Linked DNA regions of Homo sapiens: region 2 is linked to region 1. The links are contacts of gene promoters, found by promoter capture Hi-C in blood cells and fetal thymus (Javierre and others, 2016). All regions are on one chromosome and are shown on one strand. Each heading gives the region's core, a stretch centred on a gene start or on the middle of the fragment in contact. The rest is flanking DNA. Distances are from core to core; before and after follow the strand shown. Region 1 overlaps MAP3K1 (mitogen-activated protein kinase kinase kinase 1). Region 2 holds the start of PLPP1 (phospholipid phosphatase 1).

Region 1 (3,414 bases), core at 614-3,113:
GTAAGATGTATTTCTGTAGCCTTGATGATACTGAATAAATATGTACTTTAGAATTACATAAAAATGGATGCTGCTTACCGAATGTCTTATCTATTATCTGTGTGGAGAAATCTTTTTTGTTATTGTTGACCTGAGTCATTTTATACCTTGCAGTTTCTTTAAAATGCATAATAATCACCACTACCACTAATATACTGATCTTTTCCGGTTTTTTAAAAAAAATTTTTATTTTTTTTTTTGAGACGGAGTCTTAAAGATATTTTTCTTGCTCCAAGGGTCTAGATTCTTCTTTTTTTGTTGTTGTTGAGATGGAGTTTCGCTCTTGTTGCCCAGGCTGGAGTGCAATGGCACAATCTTGGTTCACCACAACCTCCGCCTCCCAGGTTCAGGCAATTCTCCTGCCTCAGCCTCTTGAGTAGCTGGGATTACAGGCGCCTGCCACCACTTCCAACTTTTTAAATTTTTGTATTTTTAGTAGAGACAGGGTTTCACCATGTTGGCCAGGCTGGTCTTGAACTCCTGACCTCAGGTAATCCACCCGCCTCAGCTTCCCAAAGTGCTGAGATTACAGGTGTGAGCCACCATGCCCGGCCAGGTCTAGATTCTTAAATAACCAAATTTCAAGTTTTGTACAAAGATTGAAGGAAAGCTAGTCTTTAACCAGGAAGAAAAGGATTTGTTAAGAGATTATCAGCCGTATCTTTGCTGACTCATTGATACTGTGGTGCCTAAGACATCTTGGCTTTTGTGACAGAATCCTGCATACAACTTTCTCCAGGATAGTTCCTCCAGGAGGGACCCCTCTGCCAGGCACTGTGGCAGTCACATGTCCAGGCTGCATCTCTGCCCTGCTCAGCCTCTTCATCCTTGCATTCAGATCTCCATGTGGTTTAGGGTGCCCATCAGGGTAAACACTGCCATTGTCTCTTTAATTGCTGTGCTCTTACTCTTCTGGCTTTCACACCTTCAGCTTCCAATCAGTCACCAGTTCTTGTTATTGCCACTCTCCTAGTAGCCTGAGAATCCATCCAACTTCCTCCACTGCCATGACTGCTAACCCAGGGTCAGGCCACTGTCAACCCACTGTCAACCTTTTCTTCACCCTCAGAATGAAGTCCAGACTCCATAATGCAGTTCAGAAACCCTTAGGACTCAGGCTTCTGCTCACTTTCAGCAGCCCCTCAGAATGGTCTGCTCCCGTCATTTCAGCATCGTGCTCAGTTTTAGTCCCTCAACTGACCGTTCTTCTTTTTTTTTTTTAAAGAAAACAATTTTTATTTAAAAATTTATTTTATAAGAAGTATTGGCATGAATACATAGATAAGGCATTTGAAATGGCTTCTCTGGTTGGACTGTTGACCAGCTGAATTCCAGCTCTGTCCTGCAGCTGATCACCCTTCTTTCTCGGCGTGCCCAATGCTCTTACCTCTATCTAGAATACTCTTTCCAGCTCCGTGGTGAGGTTTTGTTTGTTTTGTTTTTATTCTCTTTGCAATAAAGAATTATTGGTATTCCACTAAAAAATAAATGTGGCTTTGTAGAAATCAGTGCTGTACTGTGAATTCTGCCGAGCTCTGGTTTAACAAGTTCCTCGATATCTGAGTTAGATTTGCTACTTTTAAGCCTTTTTAGTTTTTTTCTCTATCATTGTACATGTAGTCAGGTCTTTCTGAACGACAGTGTTCACAAAGAGATGTTTGTAAAGCACACATTATTGTAAAGTGAATCAGATTTTCTTATTTTGTGTTAAAAGCTCAGAGATGTGGTCTCAGGGAAAAAATGTTGCTGCCAACCTACATATTACTGTCCTTGAGAATAATCCGAGACCTTCACAGGTCAGACAACAGATGTGCTCAGATACTTCAAGCAGAGAGCTTGATGACGATGTAAGCATCACAAGATTTATGTCAGCTGCTGGACCTCCACAGACAGGGTCCCAGCAAGCTGACAGGTTGTAGGTGAGCAAGCACGTTAGATGTGCAGGTCACTCACATCCCTTTTTGTGGGATCAATGGATGTTCTTTCCTGAGAAATGAAAGGGCAGATGAGTAAGCATGCTAGAGCATGTGTCTTCAGTCCTGCTGTCACTCCTGAGGAGATGTCCATGCCTTCAAGAAACACTCAGAGCTGCCAGCCAGGCACCAAGGTGCTGGGGACACAGCAGGAGGGAAGTCTCCATCACTTGCCTGTGGAGGAGCTTACCTGATGACAGACAGTGCAGGCCCCCGTCCACTGTGAGTCGGGGAGGCATCAGGAGGCTTTTTTGGGAAATGTGAGGTGGAGCACCAAGCCAAGTCCCGATAAACGTGGAGGAATGAACCAGGTGAAAGGAACTTGCAAGGAGGTTTTGTGGCCTAGGGGTGGGTGGAGAACACACAGGCCCAGAAATCAGCAGTCTTAGGATGGCATGGAGGACTGCAAGTGTAGTTCAGGTAACTCGGCCAGAGTGGAGGCAGGGTCCAGGGACCAAGCTGGGACACGATTTCTGGCTCTGGCCAGAGAGAGAGCCACGCAGAGCTCTCTGCCTCGTATTGCCCCCACTGGCCAATCCTTGAATCTCAGCGCTTAGGACAAAATAAAAAAGCCTTTGTAATTTGACAGGTAACCACAGAGTGTTAGGAAGTGGGTCAGGAGGCCCCAAGAAGGATTTACATCAGAGCTGGGACAAGACAGTCTGGGGTCACAAATCTGGGAGCTGTGGCTTTTGTACTTCAGTAGCTCCATGTAGTTTCAGAGGTTCACAGATTGGGAAGTGTTCTCATGGCAAAATGAATTCCATCCACTGTGGTCCTGAATGTGGTTTTGGAACTACATGTTTCCATTTCAGAGACCATGCACTGTAGTGATTAAGAACCTGGGCCTTGCTGGGTGCCGTGGCTCACGCCCGTAATCCCAGTACTTTGGGAGGCTGAGGCGGGTGGATCACCTGAAGTCAGGAGTTCGAGACCAGCCAGGCCAACATGGTGAAACCCCGTCTCTACTAAAAATACAAAAATTAGCCGGGCTTGGTGGTGTGTGCCTGTAATCCCAGCTTCTTGGGAGGCTGAGGCAGGAGAATCACTTGAAACTGGAAGGCAGAGGTTGCAGTGAGCTGAGATCGCGCCACTGCTCTCCAGCCTGGGTGACATGACGAAAACTCCATCTCAAAAAAAAAAAAGAACCTGGGCCCTAGGAATTAGACCTGTTAGCTACTTGGACCCCAGGGAAGTCACTTCTCTGAACCTTGAATTTCTTGTCTCTAAAATGGGGTCGTTGGTGGTATAATGAAGCACCATTCTTGATCCAGAAAAGTATTCAGTTAATACTAACTGTAGATAATACTCTTGCAAGTAACTGTCTATGCTCACTACTTAAACCTTTAACCTTTTAGAATGAGGTTAAGAGCCTCCCCCAAGGTTGCTGTGCTACTTATCA
Region 2 (3,414 bases), core at 610-3,109, 1.3 Mb before region 1:
CCAGCGCTGTGGCTCACACCTGTAATCCCAACACTTTGGGAGGCTGAGACAGGCGGATCACCTGAGGTCAGGAGTTCGAGACCAGCCTGGCCAACATGGAGAAACCCTGTCTCTACTAAAAACAGAAAAATTAGCCAGGCATGGTGGCGGTGCCTGTAATCCCAGCTACTAGAGAGGCCAAGACAGGATAATCACTTGGACCCAGGCGGCAGAGGCTGCAGTGAGCCGAGATCCCGCCACTGCACTCCAGCCTGGGTGACAGAGAGAGACTGTATCCAAAAAAAAAAAAAAAAGATAACAAAATGGAATTTTTCCTTACAACAACAACAAAACCTGGTAACAGAATTTATAAGAATTCCACAAGATTGCAAGGGCCTAAATGACCCGGTTGGAAACTGGAGAGTGGAATAACTAGGAACTACTGGATTAAAACCGAGGGAATCTCCTGTCACTGAGAAACCATTACGCAGACTTCCATCCAGGTGGCTAAAGCCACAGATCTCCCACCCTGAGAACTTGCCAATACTACTACTATTCTGATTACTTCAACATGAGTAGGACTATCCAAACCTCCAGCAGCTCTTGCTTTGTTTTTGTTTATTCCATCATATATAAATAGTTCACAGCATAACTGCCTTATACAATACATAAAAAGTGAAAACTACTCCTTCCAACGCCCATCCCTTATCCAAATGATTCCAGTTCTTTCTCTTCAAAAGAAAGGAGTAACTGGCAACCAGAAGCCTCATAACTGAACTCTTCCAATCAGGAAGACAATGCGAAATCTGCTGCAGCCAAAGAATGTCTACTGCTCCTTGAGACACTGTCACAAGAGATGGAAAGCTACACCATGGCAAGGTCTGGGCAGACAAGGAAACAGGTCTGGGGTACCGCATCCTCCCCCACCCCCAAAACTTCTTTAGACCTATACGCAAAAACTTGGCGTGCTCATCCCTACTTGCAACCTGACAATTTACAACCTGGCACACCTTCTAATTAGGAACTAGTTCTAGCCTTTTATAGCCGAAATATTAAACTGCTTCTCACGATAAATCAGGCACTGGCGCCTGCTACTGAGAATCCCCTGTGCATCAAACCTCCAGTTTCACTACTGAGATGGGCCAGTGACCAGGCTCCTCTACCGTACAGAGGGGAGGAGCCCACCCTGCTCTGCTAGAGTGGAACTGCAAACAGAGGACAGGAGCAAGGTATGGAGCGCAGAGGCGTGAACAGCGTCCAAGCAGGGCTGGGCTCATCGCACCGGCGGGCGACAGACAGCGGCGGGCACGCGGGAGCCGGGGTGCAGGCTGCAAAGCGGGGTCCCTCGGCTGCAGAAGCCGCCCCCGTGTGTCGCCCCACAGCTGCGCACGCGTCAGGCAACACACCCCCGCTGCCCGTCGCGGCTCTGCGCTAAAGCCCTCCCGGGACAGCCGCACACGCCCCTCGGACCCGGCGGCGCGTACGTACCCAGCAACACGCAGAGCACATCGAGGGCCACGTACGGCAGCCGCGTCTTGTCAAACATGGTCTCTGCCCGGGCTGCCCGGCAAGGGCGATGGACTGAGCTGCGGGACGGCGGCCGAGGCCCTTGATTCTCGAGCCCGGGCCGGGGCTGGCGACGGCCCCGAGCTACGGCCCCTCCCAGCCGGAGGAGGAGAGCAGCCGAGGGCGGGCTGAGACCGGGCGGCGCTCCCACCGCCAGCAATGGCGCCCGGGGCCCTCCCCTCACAGCCCCCGCGAACACTCGGTTAGTGCCGAGGCGCTCGTGTGCCAGCCGCGGCAGCTCTGTAGCCTCAGGACCTCCTCAGCCGGCACGGCCTGCCCCGGTTGCTCCCCGTCCGGATCCCGGCGCTCTCTCCCACAGGCGGGGCGTCCAGACTCTCGCTTTAAGGATGGGGACCGGCAGGGAGGAGGAACGCGGGGTCCAGCCCCTCCCGCTGAGCAGCGCAGGACCGGGCAGCGCGCGGGTTCGCGGGCGGGGGGAGTGCAGCAGGGGCGGGGCCAGGGAAACCCCAGGCCGCGGCGGTCAGCCAATCAGCGCCGTCGGCCTCATCCCTCCCGACCTGCGGCATCCGCCCAGAAGTGCGGCTCTCGGCAGCCGGGCGGGGCGTGGGGGCGGCTCCCGTTCCGATCCAGGGGGCTTTGCTCTGGACCGCAATTGCTCAGGTGGTCTCCGAACTCGGCCTCGGTACCCCCACTAGGCATTGCTGCTTTCAGAGAGCTAGGCTCCCTACCCAACGATCCTAGAGCACCGGCTGCCTGCCACTCCCCACCCCTTCCATGGGGATGAGGTAATAAACAGGTCAGATTGTTACCACTGAGTTTAAGGGGGGAAAAGAGGTCAGAGTAGGCAGGAACAGAGACGCTCTCCTTTAGTTTGGTACCTCTGAGCCCTTTCTCACTTAGGCCTCAACGTTGACCTCCCTGTGTCCTGGCTGAGCCCAAATGTTAGCAAGAAGCATGCTAAATCATCCATCCTCGATACCTGATCACCGTTGAATTCTTGATATTTAATATCGGATTAGATTCCTTATATTACACCTTTGTTGTAGAAGCCCTTGACCTGCCTTTAGCCAGAATCCCTCTACCCTTGATGTCTCCTCTTAGTAATTTTCCATCCACCGTCACCTCCCTCACAGACACGGTGCCTGTTCCTTGGCTATAAATCCCCTGCTGTCTTTGCTGTATTCTGAGTTGAGCTCAATTTCTCTCTCCTGTTCCAATAGTCATGACCCTTATTGTAATAATCTTGAATAAATTATTCATGTGTTTGACAAGTGTCAGGATAATTTTCTTTAACAGCAGCAAGCACTCCCCCTGCCCCATACCCAGGAGGACCCTAGCCCACATTTAGTAATCTCAGTTTCCTAATATGTAAAATGGGGATTTTTTAAATAAATACCTAATACTCAGACATCACAAGTACTTTGAATTTATTGTGACCTTGCAATCTGAGGCCCTTGTAACTCTGGAAGTAAAGAAAGCCACATGATAAACAATGGCCCATCTTTCTCAGGTGTAAATTGCTTAAAGCTTTTACAGCTTTAAGCTGCCCAGTGTTCCAGTCTGGAGGAAGAAGTGAAACCCAGAAAAGATTATATGATAGTGGCTTTATCTAGAGTTAAACCGTCTACAGATGTTAATGATTGGTATATTTTCTCTTTAAATATGTAAAACACAAATCACAAAATGTGCCTACTACTTCTTCGACTTATCCTGCAAAGCACTCATAAAGCCAATGGAAAGATAACATTAAACAGAGTCTGGAGATACAGCCCCAAGTAAGCTCTCAAAAACAAAATATACATTTGAAGAAAGATGTTTTTCTTTAAAACGAATGCTAATGTTTTATTTTGCCTCTTGTTTAAATAGCCGTAAAAGCTTTAAGCAATTTACACCTGAGAAAGATGTGCC

Evidence for each region. The method cuts DNA at HindIII sites, captures the fragments that hold promoters and counts their contacts. A CHiCAGO score of 5 or more calls a contact.
Region 2: a contact is called between the fragment with the promoter of PLPP1 here and a fragment that was not itself captured in region 1, in 1 of 17 cell types (fetal thymus). The highest score is 6.3, in fetal thymus.

The regions. Positions count from the first base shown.
Region 1 is chr5:56,824,720-56,828,133 of GRCh38, forward strand. All of the region lies in intron 1 of MAP3K1 (mitogen-activated protein kinase kinase kinase 1), which reads left to right. Among named protein-coding and RNA genes, the nearest start is that of MAP3K1, 11 kb to the left of the region's middle. RefSeq lists an enhancer at 645-1,155. The HindIII fragment of the contact is 3,904 bases long and covers 1-3,414 here.
Region 2 is chr5:55,533,105-55,536,518 of GRCh38, forward strand. It overlaps PLPP1 (phospholipid phosphatase 1), which reads right to left and starts at 1,860. Exons shown (of 6, transcript NM_003711.4): 1 at 1,468-1,860. The coding sequence starts at 1,525. It also overlaps the pseudogene RNF138P1. RefSeq lists a silencer at 1,443-2,082 and an enhancer at 2,313-2,382. The HindIII fragment of the contact is 4,109 bases long and covers 1-3,031 here.